Linked DNA regions of Homo sapiens: all the other regions are linked to region 1. The links are contacts of gene promoters, found by promoter capture Hi-C in blood cells and fetal thymus (Javierre and others, 2016). All regions are on one chromosome and are shown on one strand. The core of a region is centred on a gene start or on the middle of the fragment in contact, and the rest is flanking DNA. Distances in the headings are between cores, read along the strand shown.

What was found. Contacts are between HindIII fragments. The CHiCAGO score rates a contact against its expected background, and 5 or more counts as called.
Region 2: a fragment that was not itself captured here is called in contact with the fragment with the promoter of ATP6V0A1 in region 1 in 1 of 17 cell types (erythroblasts); the score reaches 5.2 in erythroblasts.
Region 3: a contact is called between a fragment that was not itself captured here and the fragment with the promoter of ATP6V0A1 in region 1, in 2 of 17 cell types (naive B cells and erythroblasts). The highest score is 5.7, in naive B cells.
Region 4: a contact is called between a fragment that was not itself captured here and the fragment with the promoter of ATP6V0A1 in region 1, in 1 of 17 cell types (fetal thymus). The highest score is 5.8, in fetal thymus.
Region 5: a contact is called between a fragment that was not itself captured here and the fragment with the promoter of ATP6V0A1 in region 1, in 4 of 17 cell types (fetal thymus, naive CD8 T cells, activated CD4 T cells and 1 more). The highest score is 6.8, in fetal thymus.
Region 6: a contact is called between a fragment that was not itself captured here and the fragment with the promoter of ATP6V0A1 in region 1, in 1 of 17 cell types (activated CD4 T cells). The highest score is 5.8, in activated CD4 T cells.
Region 7: a contact is called between a fragment that was not itself captured here and the fragment with the promoter of ATP6V0A1 in region 1, in 2 of 17 cell types (activated CD4 T cells and total CD8 T cells). The highest score is 5.2, in activated CD4 T cells.

What each region holds. Positions count from the first base shown.
Region 1 is chr17:42,457,185-42,461,324 of GRCh38, reverse strand. ATP6V0A1 (ATPase H+ transporting V0 subunit a1) reads right to left here and starts at 2,447. Exons shown (of 22, transcript NM_001130021.3): 1 at 2,362-2,447; 2 at 314-477. The coding sequence starts at 430. RefSeq lists a silencer at 2,378-2,587 and an enhancer at 2,738-2,827. The HindIII fragment of the contact is 8,228 bases long and covers 1-4,140 here.
Region 2 is chr17:41,966,823-41,970,962 of GRCh38, reverse strand. It overlaps CNP (2'',3''-cyclic nucleotide 3'' phosphodiesterase), which reads right to left. Exons shown (of 4, transcript NM_033133.5): 1 at 4,076-4,140; 2 at 2,223-2,895. The coding sequence starts at 4,078. Among named protein-coding and RNA genes, the nearest start is that of CNP, 2.1 kb to the right of the region's middle. RefSeq lists enhancers at 2,021-2,578, 2,579-3,136, 3,137-3,694 and silencers at 3,666-3,855, 3,986-4,140. The HindIII fragment of the contact is 2,485 bases long and covers 590-3,074 here.
Region 3 is chr17:41,999,249-42,003,388 of GRCh38, reverse strand. It overlaps DNAJC7 (DnaJ heat shock protein family (Hsp40) member C7), which reads left to right. Exons shown (of 14, transcript NM_003315.4): 2 at 2,819-2,907. Among named protein-coding and RNA genes, the nearest start is that of DNAJC7, 16 kb to the left of the region's middle. The HindIII fragment of the contact is 1,869 bases long and covers 1,014-2,882 here.
Region 4 is chr17:42,024,687-42,028,826 of GRCh38, reverse strand. NKIRAS2 (NFKB inhibitor interacting Ras like 2) reads right to left here. Exons shown (of 4, transcript NM_017595.6): 4 at 3,186-4,140. It overlaps ZNF385C (zinc finger protein 385C), which reads left to right. Exons shown (of 9, transcript NM_001392013.1): 6 at 1-44; 7 at 581-777; 8 at 1,099-1,209; 9 at 1,694-3,251. The coding sequence ends at 1,930. Among named protein-coding and RNA genes, the nearest start is that of NKIRAS2, 6.7 kb to the right of the region's middle. RefSeq lists enhancers at 1-70, 3,841-3,890. The HindIII fragment of the contact is 886 bases long and covers 1,620-2,505 here.
Region 5 is chr17:42,113,636-42,117,775 of GRCh38, reverse strand. It overlaps KAT2A (lysine acetyltransferase 2A), which reads left to right. Exons shown (of 18, transcript NM_021078.3): 9 at 1-98; 10 at 180-388; 11 at 615-741; 12 at 1,943-2,053; 13 at 2,741-2,884; 14 at 3,172-3,286; 15 at 3,382-3,418; 16 at 3,494-3,557; 17 at 3,692-3,776; 18 at 3,934-4,140. The coding sequence ends at 4,127. Among named protein-coding and RNA genes, the nearest start is that of DHX58, 3.0 kb to the right of the region's middle. RefSeq lists enhancers at 1,417-1,736, 1,460-1,995. The HindIII fragment of the contact is 5,792 bases long and covers 1-4,140 here.
Region 6 is chr17:42,132,275-42,136,414 of GRCh38, reverse strand. The region is part of intron 1 of RAB5C (RAB5C, member RAS oncogene family); the gene reads left to right. Among named protein-coding and RNA genes, the nearest start is that of HSPB9, 12 kb to the right of the region's middle. RefSeq lists enhancers at 2,493-2,542, 3,113-3,162. The HindIII fragment of the contact is 4,693 bases long and covers 1-3,596 here.
Region 7 is chr17:42,172,928-42,177,067 of GRCh38, reverse strand. KCNH4 (potassium voltage-gated channel subfamily H member 4) reads left to right here. Exons shown (of 17, transcript NM_012285.3): 5 at 771-1,014; 6 at 1,332-1,489. Among named protein-coding and RNA genes, the nearest start is that of KCNH4, 6.1 kb to the left of the region's middle. The HindIII fragment of the contact is 2,391 bases long and covers 1,262-3,652 here.

The sequences.
Region 1 (4,140 bases), core at 1,198-3,697:
TTTAAATACCTTGCTATTTAGCAAGTGAAAGCCTTGATCAGGTTAGTTTGGTAACCTCTCCCTGCATCCCAAACAATTACCTGGAGAATGCTTAGGACTGTTCTGAAAGTGGGAGCTAGCAAAAGCATGTAAAGATTGGCACAAAACATTCTCACCTTTAGAAAGACAACTCAAAATGTGCATTCTGCCAATAGGAAGTCAGTGCTATAATGTTATTTTTGCAAATAAAAAACAAAACATTCATCATAAGGCATCTGACCACGATAGCAATAGAGTTCAGCAGTAATCAAGTCGCAGCCCCACAACTACTTACGTCACGAAACTGAACCTTTCCAAGTTCTCCTAATTCACTGACACAACAATAAGCAGCCTCTGACTGTAGAAAAAGCTGGGCCAGTGTCATTTCTTCACTCCGGAAAAGCTCCCCCATGGTGGCAGAAGGTACCAGTCTAGTGAGTACCTGGATTTCTCTCCAACCTGAAGCAAAGAGAAAATGACATAACTTTGGAAATTACCACGAGGGCTAAGAGCAAATGACACCCCACTACGGCTCTTGCATTTACATTTCTAACACCCCATGAGGACAGGTCAACAACTGTTTTTGACACCCTGTCTAGAAAGATGGAAAGGAGAAATTGCAAAGGCAGTTCCTGAATTCTGTCCCACAGAGTGTCAGATGAAAAGTCACTTCCATTCCAGTCAACATCAGGATCAAATGACAATTATTTTGGGCAACTCAACTGATAAGAATGTATCCAGATTAAAGACAGGAACTGGGAACCTCAAACAACTCTTTAAATACCCAGGACACAATATTGAGGCAGTGAGTTTCACACTGCTCAATCTGTTTTTGCTAGTGCAGGAAACAAACAGAAGAGGCCTTCAATACCCTCTCATAAAGATGTCTGCCTTGTAACTATCCTTCTCCCTTCTACTGACAATGCGCATTTCTAAAAGCCCAAAGTTCTGGCACTATCCTAAAGCTATGGCTACACTAAAGGGTTTAATCTTCCAGATTCCTCAGAAAACAATATTTCCCCACTTAGGAATTCAAACAAATAACCGTCATCTGGAAAAAGCAACCAGTTTGCATATTAAGCTCAATTTCAAATCAAGCATGACAGGAACACACTGATAATGACAAAGCAGTTTTATCAAGCCACAGAGAATAAGCCTTCCACCTCTGCAGCTTTCTGTTTCTCAACCCTACCTTCAAGATTAATTACATTCTTCCATCTGTCAAATCTCATGAGCCAATAAAGGTTTCGTTTTAGTGCTGTCTTACTGTTGCCGGGTATGAGACAACTGGCGCTATCAGTGGTCCTGAAACTGCAATTATTTATTCTCGATCAGCTAATGTAAGGCACAGCCTGTCCAGTATCCAAACTCAGAAAAATGCACAGTATTTTTAGTGTCATAAGGGCATCTATACTGAGTACTGATAGATGAGTCTGACATCAAAGGAAGATTTACTCTTCTGGAAGGCTGGGAGACATTTTGAGAAATCTGAACGAACAAACCTTTGTGCATGTGATGTTCAAGACAGTAACACAAGCTCAGACATAAGCAAGGACTTCTCAAGAGAATATGCAGGCTGACTTTAAGATTCTGTACATCTGAATCATCCAAATCAGCTGTTACCGGCACCACCCTTAAACAAAGAGAGATTCTACAACCTCTAAACACATAAAATTAGGCCTGGTCAGCATAGTTCAGGAGCTGTGGATAATGATAAGCCTCCAACGAGTCGCCTCCGTCCTCCTGCTCTTTAATGATTATAGGTCTCCCAAGAATATCTCTATAGCAATGGAGGCTAACAGAAAACTAATTAGGCCAAAGTAGTTCTGGACGATCACAAAACAAAATATGAAGAAACAGCAATTCTGCAAAAGATGAGTCCAACTACAGCGCCCCCGCGCCCTGCCTAGAAGAATCTCACTCCTGTCATCCGGTCCTCGCCTCCTCCCACGGTATTCACCTGCTTCATTTCCTGTCTACCCAATGAGCAGGAATTCTCTGGACTCAGGCTCATCTACCTTGAGATGGGAAAAAAGGAGAGGAAAACCCCCAAACTGAGAAACCCTTTAAGAAGCCCCCTAAATTCTTCTGCCTATCCAATAACCTCCGGTTCCTCCGCCTACCCCTTAAAGCAGGGAAGAGATGCGGGGCTTCCAAAGGGCAGTGAGCCTCCGGTTCCTCAGGGCAGAGGAGGGGTGCCCAAGGAGGGGGCGAACCCCCATTTTATCTCGAAGACGTCAGATCCCCGCTAATTCCTCTGACAATCAAGGGGGCTCTTAGAAGGATTTCCTACGTCCATCGAGGGCCGCTCCCTGTTGCGCTAAACCTACAGCCCCCACTCACCTCCAAACTCCGCCACAGCAACCGCCACAGAAACCACCGCAGCCAAACCCGCACCCTCCGCGGCTCCAGGAGCAGCGCTTCGACGTGCTTGCGTCCGTAAAGCCCCGCCCCTGCGCCGCCGCCGGCCCCCGCCCCCGCAATGACCTCATTGCAGTTGGCCAATGGGGCGCAGCCTCGCCCGGGCTGCAGCAGTGCGGAGTCACGGGGGTCGCAGGCGAGACCCAGCGTGCTGACGCCATGTTGGCCCCTGTGCTGTATCTCCACGCTGGGGAGGGTTAGCGGGTGGGGCTGGAGGTGCAGGTGCTCGAGGCCTTAAGTTCCTGAGCCTCCCTGAATCCTTTTTCTTACCCCTTATACTGGGGTAGGTTGTCTTTTCTCTTTCTTTTTTTTTTTTTGAAGTCTCATTCTGTTGCTCAAGCAGGAGTGCAGTGGCGTGATCTCGGCCCACTGCAACCTCCACCTCCCGGGTTCAAGCGATTCTCCTGCCTCAGCCTCCCAAGTAGCTGGGACTACAGGCACGCACCACCATGCCCGGCTAATTTTTGTATTTTTTTTTTTTTTAAGTAGAGACGGGGTTTCACTATGTTGGCCAGGCTGAGTCTCGAATTCTGACCTCGTGATCCACCCGCCTCGGCCTCCCAAAGTGTTGGGATTACAAGCGTGAGCCACCACGCCCGGCCTTTTTTTTTTTTTTTTTTTTTTTTTTTTAGATGGTCTGTTTCCCAGGCGGGAATGCAGTGGCGCGTTCTCGGCTCACTGCAGCCTCCGCCTCCCGGGTTCAGGGGATTCTCCTGCCTCAGCCTCCCTAGTAGCTGAGATTACAGGCACGCACCACGCCACCCGGCTATTTTTGTATTTTTTGTAGAGATGGGGTTTCGCCATGTTGCCCAGACTGGTCCTGGCCTCCACCCGCCTCGGCCTCCCAAAGTGCTGGGATTACAGGTGTGAGCCACCGCGCCCGGCCCTCTCTTTATTTTCATATCCAAAGAATTAATTCACACATACGCACCCAAATAATTAATGTCTTCTCTCTTTATTTTCATATCCAAAGAATTCACACACACACTCAAATAATTAATACGCAGACACATATACCACCCTTTCTCTTTTCCCTTATTTTACAGATGAGAACATTTGAGCCCCAGACTGGGGAGCGGCTAGCTTTAGATCCTGTAGTAGAGTCTTTAACGGGGTCTCATTTGCATAAGTATGGAAAACCTCTCTTTAAATGGTACATGGTTCATGCCTTCCAGCAACTTCCCCGGGTCTATTTTTCTCTGTTTAACAGGAAAAACCTCATCAGACCATATGTTGTGAAAGTACATTTCAGTCTTGTTTGGTAGATTCATGTGGGCTCAATTGACCACTTAGGAGTTTTCAATTCCTCAAATTTATTTTAAAAACATTTTTTATGGCTTGTACTCAACTTGTAAATTAAATATTGAAAAACATTTTTTAAACGCAAAAGTGATGTCTATTATTTTTTAAATGCCATTATCAAATATTGATATTGATTCCCTTTTCTTGCCCTTTTAAAGAAGAGTAGGGATCTCAAGTCGTTTGTGATAACCAGAATTGTATCAGGAAAAACTCAGAAAACCGGTTATTCTGTCTTCCTGGGTGGTGGAACCCTGTTGAAATTCAAGTGTAATGAGGGAGATATTCCAGATAAAAACTTGTTGCTGATAATTTTGTCAACCTGACAAAAACATCATCAAACCTGCTTTACCAGCCTAAACAAAATAAGGGGACAAAAATGGACGTTTTATTTGAATTTAT
Region 2 (4,140 bases), core at 583-3,082, 490 kb after region 1:
TGGTACAGGAAGGGTCTTGGACTATAATGGGGTGACATTATGGGGCTGGAAGACACAAAGAGGAGTGGAGTATCTGTGATTTTGATTTCCAGACTCCACACCTGTGGCTGTCTTTGGAGTCACTCGCTTTTTCCTGTTATGTTCTGAATTGAGTCCCCATGAGGATGTCTCGCCCTCCACAGGGGAGGAAGGCCTCTCCTGAGAGCAGCCTTGCTGGCCCATTACATTTCTCCTGCTCTAATCCTGGGCAGAAAAATCCAGTTTTCCTTTACAAATAAAATAGGCTGGGCATAGTGGCTCGCACCTGTAATCCCGGCAATTTGGGAAATTGAGGCGGGGCGTTTGAGACCAGCCTGGCCAACATGGTGAAACCCTGTCTCTACTAAAAATTTATAAATTAGCCAGGTATGGTGGCGGGTGCCTGTAATCCCAGCTACTTGGGTGGCTGAGGCAGGAGAATTGCTTGAACCCGGGAGATGGAGGTTGCAGTAAGCCGAATTGCCCCACTGCACTCCAGCCTGGGCGACAGAGCAAGACCCCCGTCTCAAAAAAAAAAAAAAAAAAGATCTGGCAATCATCCTGTCAAGCTTGATTCGTCCCATCTTGGGCCAAGGGCCCCTCCTTTCTTTTGTGCTACCGACCAGCCTGGTCAAGATGGTGAAACCCTGTCTCTACTAAAAATACAAAAATAAAAAAAAATTAGCCGGGCATGGTGGCAGGCGCCTGTATTCCCAGCTACTTGGGAAGCTGAGGCAGAGAATTGGCTTGAACCCAGGAGGCGGAGGTTGCAGTGAGCCGAGATCATGCCACTGCACTCCAGCCTGGGCAACAGAGCAAGACTCCGTCTCATAAATAAATATTAAAAGCAACTTTGAGCAGTAGTCACTCCAGGGCAGAGCCACCAGCTCACAGGTACAGGGCTTGCTCCTGGCCAATGTCACTGCAAGCACCACAGTTCACTGCAGAGTTCAAGTTTAGGAGCTGAGAAAAAAGCTCTCTGAGAACCCATACAGGCACAAATTCCCTGCTTCTGTGCAATATACACAATGTCAACAAACCAGAGTGGGGCTATTTCAGGCATGAAGATCATCTAAAATTGGGGGTGGCTGGGTGCGGTGGTGGCTCACGCCTGTAATCCCAGCACTTTGGGAGGCCAAGGCAAGCGGATCACCTGAGGTCAGGAGTTCAATACCAGCCTGGCCAACATTGTGAAACTCCGTCTCTACTAAAAATACAAAAATTAGCTGGACGTGGTGGTGCACACCTGTAGTCCTAGCTACTCGAGAGGCTGAGGCAGGAGAATTGCTTGAATCTGGGAGGCAGAGGTTGCACTGAGCTGAGATAGCGCCACTGCACTCCAGCCTGGGCAACAGAGGGAGACTCCGTGTCACAATAAATAAATAAATAAAATTGGAGGCAACCAGAAATGGCCTAAAGGCATATAGATGGATTAGTGGGTGGCACTTCTCCAACAGGTCACTCCAGGAGAGCCACCAGGACCCTTCTTTATCTCAAACCTATCATTGGAGCAAAAAGCCCATGCCAAGAGAGAACCCTGCTAGAGTGGCCAGAGTCCAGGGTTCCAGCCCGTAAACCCCACATCCCTCCTGGGTCCATGTTTTTCCATCTGAAAACGGGTTTTGGCCTAAGTGTGAGACTTGTGTCCTCTGGAGCTGCAGATGCCACAAACCCATGAGTAAATTGAGCAGTCCGAGGCCTGAGAACCATCCCCAGTGAAGCCACAATAGTCCTAGTTTTAATTTTTTTGCAGCTTACAATTTCATGTGATTATTATTATTATTTTTTGGAACATGATTCTGCTGCTAAAAATGCGTTGGAAAACACTGGGCTTGATTCCCCCTCTAAGGTTACATTAGAAGAGGACATGTTTCCTGTTACTACAGTAATTTGTTTTTCCCACCTCCAAGACAAGGGACAGTGGTCTACATTCAGGCTGGGAAAAGGGTGTCGGAGAGAAGAGGGCTAGAAGGATAGGTGTGGTGGGAGGAAAGGCGCTCTGGGAAGCCCCCGTGTTCCCAATGTGCTGCCAACTCCCCAAGGCTACCACTGGGACGCACCGCTTGCCCCTGCCCCCGCTGAGGTGAGCCTCTCTCTGCCTCCTGCTGCTTCGTGCTCCATCCTTTGAGTACAATGATGGTCCTTTGCCCGCAGCACCCTGTGCCCAGCAAGGTGGGCTTATAAGGCCCCAACCTGCCACCTACATTGTCGCAGCTCCTTCTTGAAGGCCTTGTGGTTCCCCAGCTCTTCCAGGAAGACCTGGCCGGCTTTGCGGAGGGTCTCAGAGCTCTTCTTGGTCAGGAACCAGCCGAAGTAGAGCGGCAGGAAGTCCTTCTCCAGCCCAGGCTTCAGCTTCTTCAGGTCATCAGCCGACAGCTGCCACTGGTTCTTCTCCTTGAGCTGGGCACAGTCCAGCCGCCACGCCGTCTTGGGCTCCACCAGCACCACCTGGTACTGGTACTGGTCGGCCATTTCAAAGAGCTGCTCCAGCCGTTCCCGTTCGTGGTTGGTGTCATCAAGCACAAGAATTCTGATGTCCCGGCGGCGGCAGTAGGCAGCCAGGTCCTCATCGAGCCGCTTGTACTCCTCGGAGAAGGCTCCTCGAGCGCCGGGGGTGATCTTGTAAGCGTCAGCCGACACCATCTTGGTGCCATCACGGTACTTGTCCACGATGACCCGTGCCAGCGTGGACTTGCCGCTTCCTGGCAGGCCGCGCAAGATGAAGAGCGTCTTGCACTCTAGCAGCGTGGCCACTGTGTCCTCATCCTGAAGGAAGGGAAACTGCAGCTCAGGCTTGTCCTTGGCCCCTGAGGATGACATCTTGCGGAAGAAGATCTTGGGCAGGAATGTGTGGCTTTTTCGGGAGAAGCCTCTGTTCTGTGTAAGGAGGGGAAGAGATGTCAGCCCAGGTCATTCGCGGGCTCCCCGCCGGCCTTACCCCTAGTCCCTAGACTGGTTGTGGGTGCCTTCCCAAGCGGGGCAGTGCTGGACCTTCTTTCCCTTTCGGTCCGGGAGCACCTTTCCGCTTCTGGTCGTGGAGGAGGAAGAGGGAAGCTTGTCTGAAGCTCTCCTAAGCGTGCGCTTTCCCCATTCCTGCCACTTCGGAAAGGTAAACGTGCTGGAGGCATGCGGGGCGCGCCAGGAGCCTGCGGTTCTGGGACTGGCCTCACTCTTATATGCTTGGCACCTACTAAGGACGTCCTCTTTGGAGGTGGGGGTCTCTGTGTCTGGGCCAAGCCACAGCTGCCACGGCTGAGTGCACAGAGAAGGGGGGGAGTGGAGAAGGGTTACCCCAAGACTGCCTCCCTTCCCCCAACAATGGCCGCAACAGATAATACTCTCTTGTCTGGCATGCGGGTACAATGGTCCCACAGAAGGGCTGGTGGGGGGCAGGGCAGGAGAGCACTGGACAAAGGCCCTCTTTCACCAAGCCTGCCACCTCCTCCTCTACCCTCTCCCGGCCCCCACAAAGTCGTGGTCTTTGTGCCTGTCCAGAACAGGGCAGCACAGGGCACCTGCAATTAGGATCCAGCTCTACCCGCCGCTGTGCTGTGTGTCAGAAGCGCCTCTCGGAGCCACTTGTTTTCCTATCTTCTAGAAGCCACAAGGGACGGCAGCTTTTACCGTAAAGGGTCCCCTCCTCTGAACTGGCTCCACCTCCCGCCCGCACCCGGGCGCGGGGCAGCGGTTCCGCGTGATGAGACTGGGCCCGGGGAGGGGGCGCCGAAGCGGCTGCCCCAGCGCGGGCCTGCGTGGGGTCGGGAGCAGCTCCCGGGCTCCCGGCCCAGGCCCACCCAGGCTCCCAGAGGCGCAGCAGCTTCTGCGGTCCCGAGTTCCCTCCTGAGAAACACCACCGTTTCCCTTTACAGCGGCCTCTCCGGCACCCCAAAACCCCTCCGCTTCTCCCAGACCTCAGGGCCGCCCTGAGTACCAAGAAAACTGGAAGTCGAACCCGGAGCCCCGGGTCCTCGTTTGCAAGACGCTTCCTCCCGAGGGGCCCCGACACTCGTTTCCCGCCCTGGTGCTACCCCGTGCCCGGCCCCGCCCGGCCTCTCACCATGATGAGGAGGGGCGCCACCGTCGCCGCCTCTGCCGGCACCAGCGCTCCGGGGCCGCCCGCCT
Region 3 (4,140 bases), core at 699-3,198, 460 kb after region 1:
ATCCACTCTTTCCTCGACTGGTCTCGCAGGGTCAGGCCCACTGGTTAAAGCTTGTTGTGTATTTGGTGGGGAGGTTCAAAATGAAGGAGGGACTCCAGTCCACTTTGGGCATTGGACCTGAAGGCAAAAAATAAGCGTTCAGTCTAAAAGCACTAAGTGCCCATTGTTTAGGCAGCTGTTAATCAGCCACGTTTCTATGAAAATAAGTCCTTTTCATGAGGCAGTTGTGTGGGAATAGCTAATTCTGGCCTGATGCTGTGCAGTGTGAGGTTAAAAACATGGCAACTTGTCACAACACAATTCTTCTTGTTCTTTTTGCTGTGGGCTGACTCTACATTACTTGCTTTGTTTGCTCTAGAATGGAATCTACTCACCATTTACTAAAATGAAATGCATTTCTTTGGGGAGGCAAAGTCCAGTTCACTAGGTCTTGCATCTTAAAGAGAAAGGAGCCCTGCTTCCTCTATGACTAATTGTTAGGAATGTCATTTAGCTTATTTAAATACCGATTTTGGTTCTGGGGTTGAATATTACATGTGGGGTGTACTGTGTGTCTTAGTTTAAACAAATTTATATGTATTGTCCATGTCTTACATATATTGTCCATGTCTTACTCCTCGTAGTACAGACTAATTTTCAAAATAGTTAGCAGTAAGCGGAGGCAAGCATTAGAGAGAAAGCTTGGCATAGTAGAAAGTGCACAAGCTTTGTATTCTGACAAACATGGGTAACATCCTGACCTCAGGCAAGTTATTTAACCCCCAGGCCTTATTTCCTCTTTTGAAAAATGGGAATAATGAAGTTCACCGGACTGTGTTTTATAGAGGATACTGTATGGAAAGTACCTGGCCTCAGTAGTTATTAGTAACTGTCCACCAAAATCATCCTTTGCATTTTTTCTAGAAGCCAGTCCTGAACTCCCCGACCTCCATAGGGGTAGTGTCTTAGGAAGGAGGAGACTAGGGGCACCTTTCAGCAGCCCTGTACATTATTTCACTTTCGACTAACAAGCTTTATACTGCTGACACAGTGTCTCCCCAGGTACCTAGATGTCTTCGTTTTCCTCAAAGATTTGTATATTCTTAGCCACTAGCCAACTGAAGAAGAGGCTAGATCTTCTCTGATGGAGTTTGGGCCTAATGTCTTACTTTGGAATTTGCTACTCCATTTCTTCACAGCAGTTTGACTAATCGAAATCCAGTTTTGGGGAAGTCCTTTGTTCAAATCCCTTGGCATGTCTGCTCTTAAAGGATAGGCTCCTGAGAGTTTTTATAAGCACTTTGCTTAATTTAGAGTTACAGGATGGTGAATACCATGTAGCAAGATTTCAGTTGGTTCTTTAAATCTTGCAATTGGGGGATCTTTCTTGAAGATTTTTCATAGCAGAAGGCCTCTTTTCAGCATTGTGATAGTTGGTATAGACAGTTACTCAAGCAGATTTATATCCATCACATTTCACAGCTGTCAGCATTTATAGGTCATTCCCATTTGCCTTCTCCTTCTAGCAGCCTTTTCATATTAGTAGGGCTTGCCAGGACAGTGATGGAGAAGAATGGAGAGGGAGGATCACCTCAATAAAAGGAGGGCGACTTTACCAGTTTGTAGTTTAAAATACTTAAGTAAATCACAAATCTCCCTAATGCAGATATCCGTAGACTCAAGCTGTAAATTGCTGTACCATCACCAAGGTTTAAGAACTAGGACTTTTGCCTCAACTTCAGGCAACCCCGAACTAGGTTCTTTTTTGCATGTGAACAACAGGAAAAGAAAGATGTTTCTCATAACAAAAATGATCAGGTACTTAGTTAATGTTGCAGTAATCATTTCAGTAAAGAATTATCTTTATCACTTGAGCAGTGGAATGATTTTGAGTATCTTGATAGAGGTTACTAGTTCTTTTAAAACACTGTTGGTCATGTCTGATTTGATTCTAGGTACTTGCTCGGGAATCTAATTCCCAATTATATAACATTGTTCCTTTAGGACAAAGTTTAGGAAAGTATACTTTGTCTAATGGCACAGTTTCAAAAAATAGATCTTAGAGGTAGGGAAAAAATACTGCTATCACCCAGTTGCTGAATATATAAGGTACTGGAGGGAGTACAAAGAGGGCAGCAAGTACCTACATTGTTGTGATGGGAAGAGGGAACACCAGTGGATGGGTGCTCCTTATAGTATGGCACTGGCATCCTGTACCTCATATGTCCCTGTCATCCACGGTCTTAGTCTCTGCTGTCACTCAGCTCTGTTCCTGTCTTAAACACCAACATGCTATGCTTTTAACTCTTTTGCCACCTGCCTTTGCTCTGCTTGTTCTTCCAGTGACAAATGCATGAGCCACTTTTCAGGAGGTGAAATTATTAAAACTCTTGAGGATGTGACCTATTTCACATTGAGAAATAAGTTGCCCTGAATGGAGTAACCATTTTTCCTGTAAGTTTGCAAAAGAGGCAGCAGTTGTGACACTGTGGAAGGAGATAGAAAAATTCCTTGCCATGAGGGAATGTCTAAATTTGTCCTGCGGGGAGGATGACTACAGGCAGAAATAGTGAGGTGAGGCAGGAACATAAGAGGGGTTTTCTTGATTTAGTTTGAATGTATCTAAGTGACAAAAAGGAGCATCTGAAGAACTTGGATTCTTTCATTAGCACCTCCTTTTGGTCCATTGGCCTATTCAACAAATCTATAAATCCTTCAAGTATCACACTAACTTTCAGCTCAGTGTGCTGCGGGCTCTAGACCAAAGATTCCTCCTGTAAGATTACAGAGGTTATTCCCTTTGTAAAGTAACATGATTCTCTTTCTCTTTCATTTTCAGGGAAGCAGAGACTTTCAAGGAACAAGGAAATGCATACTATGCCAAGAAAGATTACAATGAAGCTTATAATTATTATACAAAAGCCATAGGTGAGAAAGAACTGATACTTACGCTAGAAAACATTTACTTGCCAAATATTATTAAAAGTAGCTGCCAAGTCCTGGTGGCTCACGCCTGTAATCCCAGCACTTTGGGAGGCCAAAGCAGGAGGATCACTTTAGATCAGGGGTTTCAGACCACTCTGGCCAACATGACGAAACCCCGTCTCTACTGAAAATACAAAAATTAGCTGGGCCTGGTGGCGGGCACCTGTAATCCCAGCTACTTGGGAGGCTGAGGCAGGAGAATTGCCTGAACTCGGGAGGTAGAGGTTGCAATGAGCCAAGATTGTGCCACTGCACTCCAACCTGGGCAACAAAGCAAGACTTCATCTCAAAAAGATAAAAAAAATAGGCCAGGCTCAGTGGCTCATGCCTGTAATCCCAGCACTTTGGGAGGCCAAAGCAGGCGGATCACTTTAGATCAGGGGTTTCAGACCACTCTGGCCAACATGACGAAACCCTGTCTCTACTAAAAATACAAAAATTAGCTGGGCCTGGTGGCGGGCACCTGTAATCCCAGCTACTTGGGAGGCTGAGGCAGGAGAATTGCCTGAACTCGGGAGGTAGAAGTTGCAGTGAGCCAAGATTGTGCCACTGCACTCCAACCTGGGCAACAAAGCAAGACTTCATCTCAAAAAGATAAAAAAAATAGGCCAGGCTCAGTGGCTCACGCCTATAATCCCAGCACTTTGGAAGGCCAAGGCAGGCAGATCACCTAAAGTCAGGAGTTTGAGACCGGCCTGGCTAACATGGTGAAACCCTGTCTCTACAAAATACAAAAATTTGCTGGGTGTGGTGGTGCGTGCCTGTAATCCCAGCTACTAGGGAGGCTGAGGCAGGAGAATCGCTTGAACCCAGGAGGTGGAGGTTGCAGTGAGCTGAGATCCTGCCGTTGCACTCCAGCCTGGGGGACGACCAAAGAACTCCATCTCAAAAATTAAATTAAAAAAAATTGAGAAAAGTAGCTTCTCTCTGAGAAGTAGCCTTTTGCCCAATGGGTTGATAACTGTTACTGTATGAACTCCTTCAGGCTTAATGATCTCATGAAGGCCAGGCGTGGTGACTCATGCCTGTAATCCCAGCATTTTGGGAGGCCGAGGCGGGCGGATCACCTGAGGTCAGGAGTTCTTCTCCCCTAATTTGCTTACCCCAACTCAACATGCACATTTCATTTCAGCCTGGCCTGTTAACATGGTGAAACCCTGTCTCTAAAGATACAAA
Region 4 (4,140 bases), core at 813-3,312, 430 kb after region 1:
GGTGACAGTGAACTCGGCCTCCCAGCTTCAGGCTCACAACACAGGTCAGTAGTCCCAGGAGCTGGAGCCCAGGGAAAGGGTGGGACAGAAGCTAAGCCTCGCCAGATGAGGGCAGGCTTGAGTTCCTGGGTGCTTCGCTCAAGGGTTGGATGGCGGAGGCTTTGTGCTTGTGTGTTACTGAACGGACGTTTCTGGGTCCTCCCATTACTCCTTGGGGAAGGAGAATTGGGAAGAGAAGTCTGAGGCAGCAAGAACTGAAGGTCGCTAAATCTCTGAAGGGTCACTCCACAGGAGACAGGAGACATCTGCCTCTCTCCTTAGATTACACCCAGAAGGAAAGGACTGAGATCAAAGCAAAGGGGAAGGCAGCTATTTGTAGTGCAGAAAGGCCTTTCATAGGAGGGGCTGGCATGAAAGGACAGAAGCTGGGAGGGGAAACCACGTGTGGCTGGAGGGCGATGTGTGCACAGAGCAGCCGTGAGGCTTACAGGGAGAGCCAAATTGCATGAGTGTGGAGGGGGTCTCTGTGGCCCCTGCAACCCCTTCCTGCTGCTGAGAGACTGCCTTCTTCCCTCTCCAGGAGCCAAGCACCGGTGGATGATGGAAGGTCAGCGAGGGGCTCCCCGGAGGAGCCGGGGCCGCCCGGTGTCCAGGGGAGGTGCCGGACACAAAGCCAAGAGAGTCACAGGGGGCCGGGGCGGCCGGCAGGGGCCCAGCCCTGCCTTCCACTGTGCTCTCTGTCAGCTCCAGGTCAATTCAGAGACCCAACTGAAGCAGGTGGGAGAAGTGAGGCTGTGACTGGGGTTGGAGCCAGGGGAGGGGGTTGGGGGGCAGGGCAGCAGAGGGAGGGACCCTGAAGAGAGCAGGCAGGGCACAGCAGAGCAGGCTGGAGAAGCGAGGCCAGCAGGCCAGTGGGCCAATTAAGGGCAAAGGCCAAGACTCACCTCCCCTTCCCAGGGCCTACCCCAGGGTGAGGACCCAGTCTGTGTGCTTTGGATGTATGAGCTGTGGATAGAGGAAGGGGAAGAGTCGAGGATGATGGTCTTGGGGTCCTTGGGCTTTGTCATCTTGTTCCCAGTCTGTCTGTCTGTCCATTAGCACATGAGCAGCAGGAGGCACAAAGACCGCCTGGCCGGGAAGACCCCCAAGCCCTCCAGCCAGCACAGCAAGCTGCAGAAGCACGCAGCGCTGGCTGTGAGTATCCTCAAGGTATCTGTCTCCAGGCAACAGAGCTGGGACTGGGTCAGGAGGGGAGAGGGTGGGCTGGGAGGGCCAGATGGGGGGGCTGCGGTGGGGCAGGAAAAGAGGCCACCCTGCAATGAGGCTGCTGGGCAGTGACAGAGCTAGGCCTGGGAACTGGGATCTGCGCAGAGGAATTTCCGGGGAGGTGGGTTGGGATAGTCATCTTAGGGGCAAGAGTGAGGGGTGGGCGTGCATCTCCTAGAGACCATCTCTATCCCGTAAATCCTCCTCCCTTCTCCCATGCTGAGACTTTCCTCCCTCTGGACAGGAAGACAGGTGGTGGAGAAAGCCCTTCGGAATGAATGTTTGGGGGTGGGAAGGGAGGAGGATTTAGGTTTGGAACTCTAAAAGGCACGCTTTCCCTGCAGCAAAAAGCTTGAGGATGGGCCCCAGGGAGGGGGTGGGGTTTTCTGGGGTGGAGACTGTGTCCATTCCTTTCTTTTCCGTGTAGTCTAAACTGGCCTTGCAGAAGCAACTCACCAAGACGTTGGCAGCCCGCTTCCTGCCCAGCCCGCTCCCCACCGCAGCCACTGCCATCTGTGCTCTGCCAGGGCCCCTGGCCCTCCGCCCTGCCCCTACAGCAGCCACTACCCTCTTCCCGGCTCCCATCCTGGGCCCAGCTCTGTTTCGCACCCCAGCAGGAGCTGTCCGCCCTGCCACAGGACCTATCGTCCTTGCCCCTTATTAGCCCTCATGGGGAGGCCAGAGCTGATTTCCCAATAGCCACTCCTTGTCTCCTCCTGTCCTGAGACACCTTGGTTTCCTACATGCCACAGGGACTGTGAACAGCTTCAGGGGTCCTGCCCGATCCAGAAAGAGCTGGGCTAGTTTTAAGGGCAGCTGCCTTCCAAGGACTGTCCCCACCCTCCTTTCGCAGGCCTTCCAGGGTTAATCCTAGGCTTGCCTGCATTTCCCACCCTGACAGACCCCAAAGATCTATGCAAAATCTCAGCCCCAGCCATGTGGTGCTCTCACTTTCCTCCACCCAAGACCCACATGGCCAGACTCTAGGAATCTTAGCTTCTACAAGCCATCCTCTCCTAGCCAGGGGACGACTCTCTGACCTCTATTCCTAGGCTTTGGGGCTTCACTGGAGATAGGGATGGGGTCTCTAGCTGCAGCAGGCTCAAGGCTGTCAGGACAAGGTGACCATGGGAGTGTGACAGAGGACCATGGAGGAGAAAGGGGGACCCAAAAGTCCTTCGATCAGCAGTGCTAAGGTGGGGCAGAGCCAAGGAGGTAGTGGGGCTGGTTCTGAAAGCTTTTGGGGGCTTCATCTGCTCTGAAGGGGTGGGACTAAGAGAGGAGGTGATGTTCTGGTTGGGCCCAGGGTTTTGTTTTAATCTTAAGTCTTCTGGGCATTCATGGGCCCAGTCTTTTTTTCTGTCTGAGAGTATCATTCTGTTGCCCAGGTTAGAGTGCAGTGGTGCAATCTTGGCTCACTGCATGCAGCCTCTGCCTCCCTGGTTCAAGTGATACTTGCTGATAAGCCCAGTCTTAATATTGAGGGAGTAACTCATCCCTCAGAAGCTCTTCTTCTTAGCCTTTCTCTGACTTCCTGAACCCCAACTCTTGGAGGGCGGGTGTGGGTCTCCCTCAGACTATGGACTCAGCTAACACCGAACCCCCCGCAGAGCTCCCAAAGGAAGAGCTTTCCCCTACAGCTTCCCACTCCAAACTGGTCCTAGCACTAAATTCAGCTTTCCCTTCTCCCAACCAGCCCCTGCCACTGTGAAGCTGAGTGTTGGGAGGCAGTCTCACATGCACTGGCAAGACCCATTTTCATGCTGTCAATGTCAATGTCACAAACTCCTTTCCACTGCAGCACTGCCCCCTCCCCACCCCACAATATGGGACCCTGCCAGTATCCCCCTGTATCTTTTTTTTGTTTTTTAAAGACATTTCCAATGGGAGAACCAGAAAAAGGGGGAGGGGAGGGAAACTTTTTGATAACAATTGTGGTTTTATTGTGTCCAACCAATGCATCAATAAATGAACTTGAAGCCCAAGCCTGTGTGTGTCCTAATTCCACTCACCCAGCCCCGGGCACCTGCCCCACTCACCTCTGGCTTTGAGAAGGGGCGTGTGTCGGTGGTTGCCTGGCTGCAGTGTCTCACCTAGGCTAGGTGTGCACCTTAGAAGCACAAAGCGGGCACAGTTGTGGGTAATAAGCTTACTCTGCAGGCCGCTGGGTGTGTGCCCACCCTCCTGAGCCCCGAAAGAGGACCTGTCAGCTCCTGAGAGGCTGCTACGGGTTTGCCTTGTTCTGTTCAGGCATCTGAGGTAAGAAGGAGGGGCCAGAGGAGCACCTTGTCCAGCCTTCACCATGAGAGCGGGCATATAAATATAAATACAGGTAACTTATAAATAGAAGTCCAGCTCTGAGCTGAAAACCACAGGCAGGATAAAGAGCAGCCTCCAAGAGCGAGGCTGGCGGGCTGGGCACTGAGCGGCCACTCTGGTGACTGACAGCAGGTAGTGCACTCCTGCCCCCTGGTGGCTGGAGGGAGCGGCAGATCCCAGCCTCCAGGGCTGGTTGGCATAGCACCTTAAAGAGGGAGAAGCCATTGGCTTTACGAAATCAAGAGAACTGGAAAGGATCTAGGAGATCATCTAAGCAACTCTGGTCATCTTACAGATGAGAAACTGATGCCCAGAGAGGGGAAAGGTCTTGCTGGGTCACAAAGTGGGCTGGTGACTCATAGCCCAGTTATTCTATTCCATCTCAACCAGTGAGGCCCATCTGCTCCCTGAGCAGGAAGAGGAAGTAAAACAATTGGTAGGGGTGGGGAATTTTTTTTTTTTTTCTTCGAGATGGAGTCTTGCTCTGTTGACCAGGCTGGAGTGCAGTGGCACGATCTCGGCTCACTGCAGCCTCCGCCTTCTGAGTTCAAGCAA
Region 5 (4,140 bases), core at 505-3,004, 340 kb after region 1:
ATGCCAAGCGGCTCCGTGTGATGGGTGACATCCCCATGGAGCTGGTCAATGAGGTCATGCTGACCATCACTGACCCTGCTGCCATGCTGGGGCCTGAGGTGGGCAGCCCGACCTGCTGACCAGTTGGGGGACCCCCACCAACCTGAGACCCCGGCTCACCACCCCTCTTCTGTGCCCAGACGAGCCTGCTTTCGGCCAATGCGGCCCGGGATGAGACAGCCCGCCTGGAGGAGCGCCGCGGCATCATCGAGTTCCATGTCATCGGCAACTCACTGACGCCCAAGGCCAACCGGCGGGTGTTGCTGTGGCTCGTGGGGCTGCAGAATGTCTTTTCCCACCAGCTGCCGCGCATGCCTAAGGAGTATATCGCCCGCCTCGTCTTTGACCCGTGCGTCCCCCAGAGAGCCCCTCCCCCAGGGCAGCACACCCAGTTCCCTTCCTCCTCGGCCTCTTCACTCCTCAAAATTGGGGATCCCCTGCTCCCCACTTCTGAGGTTCATCCTTTGAGCATTCTTACTTCTCACTGCCCAACCCTGACTACAGCTCAGACTTCCAGGGCTCTGGGGACCTGAAGGGGACAGTCAGGGGCTATGACATGCCCCCCTCTCTCTTAGGAAGCACAAGACTCTGGCCTTGATCAAGGATGGGCGGGTCATCGGTGGCATCTGCTTCCGCATGTTTCCCACCCAGGGCTTCACGGAGATTGTCTTCTGTGCTGTCACCTCGAATGAGCAGGTCAAGGTGAGCGCGGCTCCCCGGCCCCAGCCCCAGTCCACGGCCCACTCCTGAGTTTGGGCCAGTTCGGAGCAGCAGGATGTGTGGCATGCAGCAGCCCGTTGCTCTTCTCTTAGTTAGCGGCCCGTTCCTCACATCCCCACAAGGTGGCAGCCGTACTTTGATAACTGTGGATTAGGAAACCACCTGTTGACAGACGGAGCCCAAGCAGCAGCCACACTTTGGTGGACCTGTGGACTTGGGTTTTCTGCATCACAAGAACATTTACATACATGGGGGAATTAATTACTTTACTTTTTATTTTTTATTTATTTTTTTGAAAGAGGGTCTCTCTCACCCAGGCCGCAGTGCAGAGGCATGATCAGGGCTCACTGCAGCCTCAACCTCCCAGGTTCAAGTGATACTCCTGCCTCGGCCTCCCAAGTAGCTGGGACCACAGGCATGCACCACTACGTCTGGCTAACTTTTGTATTTTAGTAGAGACAGGGTTTCACCATGTTGCAGGGTTTCACCCAGGCTGGTCTCTAACTCCTGACCTTAAGTGATTCACCCACCTCGGCCTCCCAAAGTGCTGGGATTACAGGCATGAGCCACCGCGCCCAGCCAAACTAATCATTATTACAGTAGCCCTATGCTGATAGTTTTGGCTTCTGTCCTTTGTTACAACAGACCCACTCGTAGGGTCTCTGGCTCTGTGTGTCGCATACCTCAGATCTGTGTGGTGCCTCATTGGCCCTGACGTGTGGGAGGCATTGCTCCTGCTGCTCAGACCTCTGGTGACTCCCTCTCCCGCTTCTCCCAACTCTGAGGCCCAGGGACTGGGAATCAGTGGCCTGTGTTGGGTTTGGACCCGGCCCTGCCACGGCTGGCAGCCTGACCTTGAACACATTTCCTAACGTAGCTGAGTTTCGGTTTTCTCTTCTGTAAAATAAAGGTGGTAATACTCGCCTCTGGGGTTAATTTGAGAATCGGTCTGTAAAACAGGAAGCACTGCACCTAGCCCAGAGTGAGCTTAGAAAGCCCGCACCCTTCACTTTCTCCCCATAAGCTCCCCTTCCTCTGTCAGCTGCCTTTCTTCCTCTTTGCCTGGATGCTCTCGCTCTCTCTACCTCCTTTCCAATCTACCCGCTCTTCTCTGGTCTCTGAGACCTCTCCAGCACCAGGCCCATCCTCAGCTCCTGGTGAGTCCTGCTTCCCTCCCCCGCAGGGTTATGGGACCCACCTGATGAACCACCTGAAGGAGTATCACATCAAGCACAACATTCTCTACTTCCTCACCTACGCCGACGAGTACGCCATCGGCTACTTCAAAAAGCAGGTGACCCGTAGCCTCGTCCCACACCGGTCCTTTGCCTGGAGGCTGGGGTAATTCTGTCCAGCCCCTCTGTGGATGGAGTAGGAGTCCCTTTGCGTCCCCTACTTCACCTGACACCTGCCAGGAGAGTCTCCATGCCTATCTTCTTTCCTCTGCTGCCATTGCCCCAGGGGAGAATGAGGGCCTGTGGGGCCAGTAGAGCAGGCCGGAGGAACTGGGGGTCAGTAGAGCATCCTGGAGGAACTAGGGGGCCAGTAAAGCAGGCCGGAGGAACTGGGGGGGGCACTAGAGCAGGCTGGAGGAACTGGGGGGCTAGTAGAGCAGGCTGGAGGAACTGGGGGGCCAGTAGAGCAAGCTGGAGGAACTGGGGGCCAAGAGCAGGCTGGAGGAACTGGGGGGCCAGTAGAGGAGGCTGGAGGAACTGGGGGGCCAGTAGAGGAGGCTAGAGGAACTGGGGGGCCAGTAGAGCAGGCTGGAGGAACTGGGGGACTCTTCGGGATGAGTCAGGAGTGGGCAGCTGACCTGGGACCTTTCCAGGGACAGTTTGAACCCTCACAGTGCCCCAGGAGGAGGTTCAGGAGCAGGAGGTGGCAAGTGGCACGTGCTACTCCTCTGGTGCTCCCAGGTGAGGGACGACAGAAGTTGGGAAATACTTATGGATGGACTGGGTCATGACCATCCACCCCCCAGGGTTTCTCCAAGGACATCAAGGTGCCCAAGAGCCGCTACCTGGGCTACATCAAGGACTACGAGGGAGCGACGCTGATGGAGTGTGAGCTGAATCCCCGCATCCCCTACACGGAGCTGTCCCACATCATCAAGAAGCAGAAAGAGGTGGTGTGCACACATGCGCATCTGTGGGATTTTTCATGAATGGGCATGCAGAGGGCGAGCACACGTGTGTAGACCTGTTCTACGTCTACATGCATATATGTGTGTGAGTGAGGAGGGGCAGGCCAGGATCTTGGCTCTTGCTCTGCTCCCTTGGGGAAGTTATGAGGGGAGGTGCTGGATTAGGTGGCGTTGCAGCTGGGTGGGTGCAGCCAGTGGCTCCGACTGTGGCCCTGGGAGGGGTTGTTGTTGGGGCTGGAGTTGGCCCCTCAGTCCCTTCCTTCCCTCAGATCATCAAGAAGCTGATTGAGCGCAAACAGGCCCAGATCCGCAAGGTCTACCCGGGGCTCAGCTGCTTCAAGGAGGGCGTGAGGCAGATCCCTGTGGAGAGCGTTCCTGGCATTCGTAAGCAGGGGTCTCAGTTGCAGGGTAGTGGGGGCACGATGCTTGGGGTGTGGACTGGCATTCTTAGAGACATTCTCCCACTTCCCACTTTGCAGGAGAGACAGGCTGGAAGCCATTGGGGAAGGAGAAGGGGTGAGTGTCAAAGGAGCCGGGTTGGGGGTGGGGCAGAGGGACTTGGAGCCTCAGACTTGGTGTCTCTCGCCCCAGGAAGGAGCTGAAGGACCCCGACCAGCTCTACACAACCCTCAAAAACCTGCTGGCCCAAATCAAGGTGGGGAGACCAGGTTTCCTTTCCAGGGCCCCTGCACCAATGGCTGTGGCCTCTTGATGCAGTGTGGGGTGGGTAGTGGTCTCGGGCTGGCGTGGGCGCAGCAGGGCTGTCCCCAGCCCGGCTCTTCTCTCCAGTCTCACCCCAGTGCCTGGCCCTTCATGGAGCCTGTGAAGAAGTCGGAGGCCCCTGACTACTACGAGGTCATCCGCTTCCCCATTGGTGAGGACCTTCCATTCCATCCCCTTCCCTCCTCTTCTGTCCCCACACCTGCTCCTGCCCTCACTGCGCCCTGCAGCCCCAGGGGGCCCACCCTGGTGGACAGCCCTGCCGTGGTCTTCAGCCTCTTAAAGCTGTGCTCCGTCTCCTGCTGCCCCAGACCTGAAGACCATGACTGAGCGGCTGCGAAGCCGCTACTACGTGACCCGGAAGCTCTTTGTGGCCGACCTGCAGCGGGTCATCGCCAACTGTCGCGAGTACAACCCCCCGGACAGCGAGTACTGCCGCTGTGCCAGCGCCCTGGAGAAGTTCTTCTACTTCAAGCTCAAGGAGGGAGGCCTCATTGACAAGTAGGCCCATCTTTGGG
Region 6 (4,140 bases), core at 1-2,500, 320 kb after region 1:
ATCGTGGCTGGCGTTGCTTCAGATTCTTCTTTCCTCTGGGTCTGCAACCAGCTAGAAGCCTGGATAGTCCTGCTGTGAGTCTGTCCTCTGTTTCTGTGTGCTGGCAGTGGTTTTCCCTTTTGAGGAAGAGCTGTGTTCTTGAGCCTATGGGTAAATCATCTCCCCAACTAATCGGAGCCTGGGAAGCATTTGCAAAACCTTGACTCCAGTTGGCTTTTAAATCAAATGTCTTCCACTTTAGCCTTTGAACCGAGTTACTTCCTCCTGTGTCTCTTGCTCCATTTTCTTTAACAACTCCTTTCTGCTGTTGTTTTTTTGGTTTGATTTTGTTTTGTTTTGCTGGACTCTTGTTTAAATATTCAGGAATGCCCTTTTCCGGGGTAAAATGTAGCTGAAGAGTCACTGGTCAGAAGCACCTGCAGGGGACCCTGGGCGGGGTCACTTGGTTCTCAGGCCACCTGGCTAACCTTGAGTGAGCTAGTCTCTACGCCCCGCCTGCCCTGGTCAACAGTCTGATTGGTTTCCCTAATCAGCTTGCTCTCCAGGCTGTGCCAGGACTCTCAGCTAGAGGAAGTCTCTAAAGCAAACAGGAAGTACACGAGACACTCATCAGCTGGAATTGCTCACCCTTTTACCAGGAAGGACAAAACATATGAAGTGGGTGACTTCGTGGATTAGAGGAAAGGTGAAACTTTCAAAGGGAGGTTAGGGGGAGGAATTGCAGCAGCATCTAGTGTCTTGGAGAAGGCTCCAGTTGCTGAGTGAAGCTGAAGACCCCTCCCACATTCATGGACTTACACATGCACACTTACGAGTTGTGCACAGCACTGATCGGGGGTGCCTTTCTGTCTCTTGGATTTCTCCCTCCTTCGTATATCAACTGTAGCTCTTGTGCTTCGATCAACTGCTTAAAATCACTGGGAACTTATTTTTAAAATACTGATTTCTGGACTCCACCTCTAGAGATTCTAATTCAGTTGGTCAGGGTATTTTCTAAAGGCCCTGGGTGATTCTGGTGAAGAAGAGTTTGACTGGAGGCTGAAATAGAAGGATCACTTGAGCCTGGGAGGTCAAGGCTGCAGTGAATCGTGATTGCATCACTGCTCTAGCCTGGGCAACAGTGAGACTCTATCTCCAAAAAAAAAAAAAAAAAATTACAGGTGGCTCACACCTGTAATCCCAGCACTTTTGGAGGTTGAGGCAGGAGTTTGATACCAGCCTGGCCAGCGTGGTAAAACCCCGCCGCTACAAAAAATACACAAAAATTTAGCCGGGTGTAATGACGTATACCTATAGTTCCAGCTACTCCTAGAAGCTGAGGCATTAGAATCGCTTGAGCCTGGGTGGCAGAGGTTGCAGTAAGCAGAGATCGTGCCACTGCACTCCAGCCTGGGTGAGAGAGCGAGATTCTGTCTCAAAAAAAAAAAAAAAAAACTTAAGAAAAAAAAAGAATTTGAGACCCACTGACCTGTAGTGTCCAGAGCAGAGGGAACCCCGGAGCAGGGAAGAACAGTGTCCCATTTTTCTTTCTCTTTCTCTTCCATCCTTGGCCCAGAAGTGCCTGTGCACAGGGCCAGGGTGTTTAGGAGCTTAGATCCCTTCTGCGCTTTCATGTGCATTGTATTAATAGGAAAATAGTGTGACTCCAAGTCCTTATACATTCTCTCCCCTTTCCTGTGGAAGACATGAGGTTGGGACTGGTGCTTGTTCTTAGTGGCCTCTGAACAAGCCAGGGTTCTGATTTGGATGGTGGGTCCATGGCAAGGAGAATCTTTCTCCCTAGATCTGAAGCTCCAGCACGGCCATTGTACTTGTGAAAAAAAGTCAACTTTTTTTTGAGACAGAGTCTTACTCTTTTGCCCCAAGCTGGAGTGCAATGGCGCGATCTCAGCTCACTGCAATCTCTGCTTCCTGGGTTCAGGCAATTCTTGTGCCTCAGCCTCCCAAGTAGCTGGGATTACAGGCGTGTACCACCACGTTGGCTAATTTAAAAAAATCAACTTTGACTGTAACTTTAGCTCTTATGGAGAATTTGATTTTTGTCTCAAAGAAGACTTTGAAAACTATGTCAGTTTTGGCTATAATTCCATCACCTGACTGCACAAGTGGATAATTTTTGCCAGGGGTTCAAAAAGAAAGATTGCCAGTAAGACACACATCCCTGGGAGGCAGGACAGCTCAGTGAATGCATTCACCTTTACTACCTGCCATGTCTTCAGTTTCCCAGGCTTGGGAGGAGAGGGTATAATGCTTCCTGGGGCTCTCGGTCTGGCCTTCCCCTGGCTTAGACACCCTCATATCTCCGTGCGCCCTTCCTAGCAAAATTGGCTTCCTTGGGCTTTATTGACTGCAAAGGTTGGACACCACTGCTCATTTGATCACCAAGCAGGGCCAGGCAAACCACTAGGCAACAGACCGTAAAAAGTGCTGGGTGTGCCTGCTCAGGTATCTCTGGAAGGCAGGATCAGTGACCAGGCAGAACATGTCACCAGCTAGTTCATGCCAGGGAGAGCCTGTCTCAGTTCATTGGGATGGCCAGAGTCTGTTCACCAACAGTCTTGGAGAAAGTGTTACAAATAACCCTGTCAGTACTCTTAGCTACTGTTTACTCAACATGATGTGTGTGAGACAGCTGGCAAACACTGCCATTAACCCTGGTGTGCCCCATATTAGTGATGAGAACACTGAGGCTCAGCTCAGGTGGCTTCTACAAAGTGATTCAGAAGTGGCAGGAGACAGTCACATCTGTGGTGCCGAAAGCCAGTGCCTGTGCTCACTCTCTCTCTGCCAGATGCTCTAGCCCTGGCTGTGCTTCAGTGGGTGTGCTTCACCTGCAGATGCTGGGCTCTGTGCCAAACCTTCATGAGAATCTCGAGGGGCTGGCTGCACAGATGACTTCAATGTACAGACACCGTTGAGAACCACTGCAGGAGAGTTATTTGTCTCCCCTTCTGGCTTGTTTTTAAAAATCACATTCTGTTCCTCTAACCCTGTGGTTTGGTAGTGACAAGACTTAGATCTGTTACCTGTATTTTTCTCGACCTGTAGGTGCTGGTTACTTCCCAGCTCGGTACCCTAAGCACCAGCTGCTTTGGTTTTTTTGGAATCAGAGACTTGGTTTTCTATTACCATCTCCCAGTCCATTCATACCTCCTCCTCCAGTGCCCCAGCCACAGACCATTGCTCAGCCAAGACTCTGTGTCACGTGGATTCATGGTAATAACCAACTTGTAATTCCACTGTGGTTTTCCCTCTGTTGCTGTCGCCCTGCCTGGCTCTGGGCGGCTCCTCCCACTGTTGAGGGCACTCAGAAACTGCAAGATTACTGTGACTGTTGCTAGAGCCAGCTAGAGCTAGACCTTCCTGGACCAGCAAAGTTGCTGCCACAAAAAAAGAGAGTTTCATTCACCTAGCAGCCCTAAACCAAACATAGGGCAGGCACTGCCTCCATTGTTCTTCCACAGCAGGGAGGATGGCATCATGTCTATGGTGGGTCTGGGGGGTTCTGTCACCTGTAGGCTGGGTGACCATGAGCAGGACATTTAATATATGAATGTTAAATTATCTATCTGAAAAATGGAGGTTGTCGTAAAGCTTGAAGGAGATAATAGTTGTGCAATTGGGAAGCTGAGGCGGGAGGGTTGCTTGAGGCCAGGAGTTGGAGACCAGCCTGGGCAACACAGTGAGACTCCATCTCTGCAAAAAAAAAAGAAAGAAAGAAAGAAAGAAAATTTTAATTAGCTGGGTGTGGTGGTGTATACCTGCTGGAGGCTGAGGCAGTAGGATCTTGGAAGCTGCAGTGAGCTGTGATCACACCGCTGCACTCTAGCCTGGGCAACACAGTGAGACCTTGTTTCTTTAAAAAAAAAAATTATTTCCTTCCATCAGCACTCTTTGAGTTCCTAGTATGCACATAGGCACTGTGAGGAAGGCATCTCTAAGAAGCAGAAAGCACAGACCTTGTCTCTTCATTGACTGAGGTGAAATGAGAAAGCGTCTTAAACTATGAAAAATTGAAATGACATAACTTTGAAATATTTACATGGTATTTCTGGTTGCTAATTGAGACCCACCACCCCGTACTTCCTTCCTTGTACTTTTGGGGAAGAGGTGGGCCCCATTTCAAACCTCTTTTCCTTT
Region 7 (4,140 bases), core at 1,208-3,707, 280 kb after region 1:
AAAAAAAAATTATCTGGCTATGGTGGTGCATGCCTGTGGTCCCAGCTACTCTGGAGCCTGAGGCAGGAGGATAGCTTGAGCCCAGGAGTTTAAGGCTGCAGTGAGTTATGATGGTGCCACTGCACTCCAGCCTGGGCACAGAGTGAGACTGTCTCTAAACTTAAAAATGTAAAAATCAAGTTGGGTGAATGTCAAGCCTCATAAATACCCTTGACAAGACATGATTGGTTCAAACAGGGGCCTGGGGCCGGGCACAGTGGCTCACACCTGTAATCCTAGCACTTTGGGAGGCTGAGGTGGGTGGATCACCTGAGGTCAGGAGTTCAAGACCAGCCTGGCCAACATGGCGAAACCCCATCTCTACTAAAAATACAAAAATTAGTCAGGTGTGGTGGCATGTTCCCGTAGTCCCAGCTGTTTGGGAGGCTGTGGCAGGAGAATCACTTGAACCCAGGAGGTGGAGGTTGCAGTGAGCCAAGATCATGCCCTTGCACTCCAGCCTGGGTAAAGAGCAAGACCCTATCTCAAAAAAAAAAAAAAAAAAAAAAAAAAAAAAAAGGAGGAGGGCCTGGGAAATACTTGGCAGGAGAAGAAAATGTCAGGTGTCAGCCTCTGCGCCCCTCTCCTGGCCTTCTATCTCCTTTCATTCATGGTCAAAAGTGCCCTTGCAGTGCCCACCTGCTAACTTTCCCCATCCCCTGCCTTTCCCACCCCCCATCTTGGCTCCTCTTTCCCTCAAGTGTCCCCAACCGCCACCCCTCTCCCCTTAGAACGTGTTTGAGCCAAAGCCATCAGTGCCCGAGTACAAGGTGGCCTCCGTGGGGGGGTCTCGCTGCCTCCTCCTCCACTACAGCGTCTCCAAGGCCATCTGGGACGGCCTTATCCTCCTTGCCACCTTCTACGTTGCGGTCACCGTCCCCTACAATGTCTGTTTCTCGGGTGACGATGACACCCCCATCACTTCGCGACACACCCTTGTCAGCGACATCGCCGTGGAAATGCTCTTCATCCTAGGTCAGACCTTCTGCCTCACCCACCCTGGTGGGTCGGCTGGGGGGATCCACTTGGCCAAGCCTCACCCACTCCTGGGGCCCACATGACCCAGACATTCAGAGCCCCTTCCTTTCTGCATCTTTAAGTCCCAATGGCCCATGTGTCCTGCTCCCCGCAGCCTTCAGCCTTGTAACCTATCCTCCCTAAGGACCAGCCAGAAGCCCAATCTATCTCTCCATGCCTGCCTCCTCCTCCAGTCTCCAAAGCTTGTTCCCAGCTTTGTCGGTTTCTTGACCCCTTTGCCAAGGCCCCCCAGTAATAGCCTCTTGCACCCCCAGATATCATCCTGAACTTCCGCACCACCTATGTGTCCCAGTCCGGCCAGGTAATCTCTGCTCCTCGTTCCATTGGCCTCCACTACCTGGCCACCTGGTTCTTCATCGACCTTATTGCTGCTCTGCCCTTTGACCTGCTTTACATCTTCAACATCACCGTGGTGAGTGACCTCCATCCCGCCATCCAGTCCAACCTCCCAACTTCAGCACAGCATCTTCCAGGAAGGGACTGACCCCAAACCCAGATATGCCCCTTCCCATCAATCCATCTGCAGATATTTATCAGGCACCTGCTCTGGGCATAGCCCTGTGCTAGGTACTGGGAGGATCCCGAGGGTCTGTGATCCTGGGGAGCTCAGCTCACAATCTTTGAGGGAAGCTGAGACAAATGAAAAGCTAACTATGGCTACCAAGGCGGCATTGGTCTGATGCCAAATGAGTGGTACTTTTCACATTTTTATTTAACAAACAACTGATGAGCATTTAGCTGTCTGCAAAGCACTGTGTGGGGCATGGCCACTGTGGGGAAAGGGAACAAGGATTCAGCCTCTAAACAGCCAAACTGGTGAGGGGGCAGGAATGCCACAGAGCACATCAGGGACAGAAGAGGTGAATGGGGGTGGAAGATGGGGCCCGGGTATGCTACAGAGGGGCTGGGCTGACCTTGGAGTTCCAGGCTGGAACATGAGTGTGTGTAAAAATGATCTGAAGTCTGGCCAGCACCTGGGAAGCAAAAGCGCCCTTGTTGGGCAGAGGCTGGAGGGGTCTGGGAAGGTTTCCTGAGGGAGGCGGAGATGGTATAGCTAGACCTTAAAGGGTGAGTAGGATTTAGCTGGAAGGAGATGAGGACAGCAAGCATTTGGGGGAGCATAGTAAACCTAGACAAGAAGGTAGAGGCTGTGGGGTGAATTCAGAGGCAAAGAATGCCAGGACCTGAGTCCTCACAGATCCCTGGGGACACTCTGGAGGTGCCCTGAGTGGTCATCTGTGGCCCCAGCCAGCAGATAGTAGGTCTTCTCAAGTCCAGGGTGGGGCAGTGCTACCCCGTGTCCCCAGGCCCCCTTGGGTGTGGGGCGGGCAAGTGGGGAGCAGTTTCCTTGTGTGCTCTCTCCCTGCACTCAGCTATAGCAGGAAACCACCTACACGCAGCCGAATTTAACTAGCCGCCAACGGGCTGTGGGCCTCCTCTCCTGGCTGTGCACACGTGTGTGCGTGCTCCCACACACGTGCATGTGTGTACGTCTGCCTCGAGGCTCTGACCATTCTGAGCAGATCTCCCTACCCCTCCCCAGGGGTGCGCCCACCCCTCTATGCCCACCAGGCACCATCAGCTGGGGAGTGGGACACTACAGAGAGCCCCCTGCCCCTCCTCTCAGGTCCCTTTGGGAGCACGTTACAGTTCCCTATGTTCTTTCACACTCATCATCACATGGGAGCCCCACGGGAACCCTTCAGGGCAGAGGCTTATCCTTTTTCAGAGGTAGGTACAGAGGCTCAGAGAGGTTCAGTGACTTGCTGAAGGTCACATACCTAGCAGGGGCAGGCAGGATATTAGAACCAGGTCTCTCCACCCTGGGCAACAGGTGAAACCCCTTCTCTACTAAAACACAAAAAATTAGCCGGGTGTGCTGGCACGTACCTGTAGTCCCAGCTACTCGGGAGGATGAGGTACAAGAATTGCTTGAGTCCCAGAGGTGGAGGTTGCAGTGAGCCAAGATAGCTCCACTGCACTCCAGCTTGGCCGGGCGCAGTGGATCACCCTGTAATCCCAGCACTTTGGGAGGCCCAGGCGGGCGGATCACGAGGTCAGGAGATCAAGACCATCCTGGCTAACATGGTGAAATCCTGTCTCTACTAAAAATACAAAAAAAATTAGCCAGGCGTGGTGGCAGGTGCCTGTAGTCCCAGTTACTTGGGAGGCTGAGGCAGGAGAATGGTCTGAACCCGGGAGGCAGAGCTTTCAGTGAGCCGAGATTGCGCCACTGCACTCCAGCCTGGGCGACAGGGACTCTGTCTCAAAAAAAAAAAAAAAAAAAAAAAAAAAAAGAACCAGATCGCTAAACTTCCAGTCTAGTATTTTTTCCAACATACCACCCTGCTTCCCAGGTAACCAGGGCCCCTGAGTGGATGGTCTGGTGAGATGAGGAATACCACTGGGGGCCAGAGAGAGGTAGAGCAGAGACAGAAGATGAGCAGGCACTGGCAGAGCTGCAGACTTGAAGGAGCCAGGCCTGGATATTCTAGTCCAAGGAGAATGACAGGAGTATCCCCAAGAGAGTGGCCCAAGGGCAGCTGACTGAGGGAAGCCCTGAAGAACTCAAGCTTGCAGTCAAGGGCTCTGGGAGCTGGGGGTAGGCATTAAACCCTGGCGAGGGTCCATATGGAGGAATCAGAGCCACCTCCTTTCCAGTTCCTTCACCTAAAATTAGAGAAAAATTGCACGAGGTGGTCCAGGAGCAGTGTAGGGCCAGGGCTGTGGGGAATGTTCCTGGAGGCCCAGGAAGGGGCAATGAGGGGCTTTCATACCAAGTTCCCCAGGCACTGCCCCAGAGCCTCCAGTCCTAGCTGCCAGGCTGCTCCCACCCAGAAGATAAGCCCTGCCCATCTCCAAGATTGAAGGGCTAATCAATATTGATAACCACAATGCAGATGGTACTTGGGGTAATATTAGTGAATATGGGACACTTACCAGGTACCATTATCTCCGTCAACCCCTAGCACAGCCCAGCCTCCCTCAGTCCCTGCTCTCCTGCCCCCTCAACTCTTCTGCTTGACTCTTCATCTGCAGCCGATCCACAAGAAGAAGTGTCCA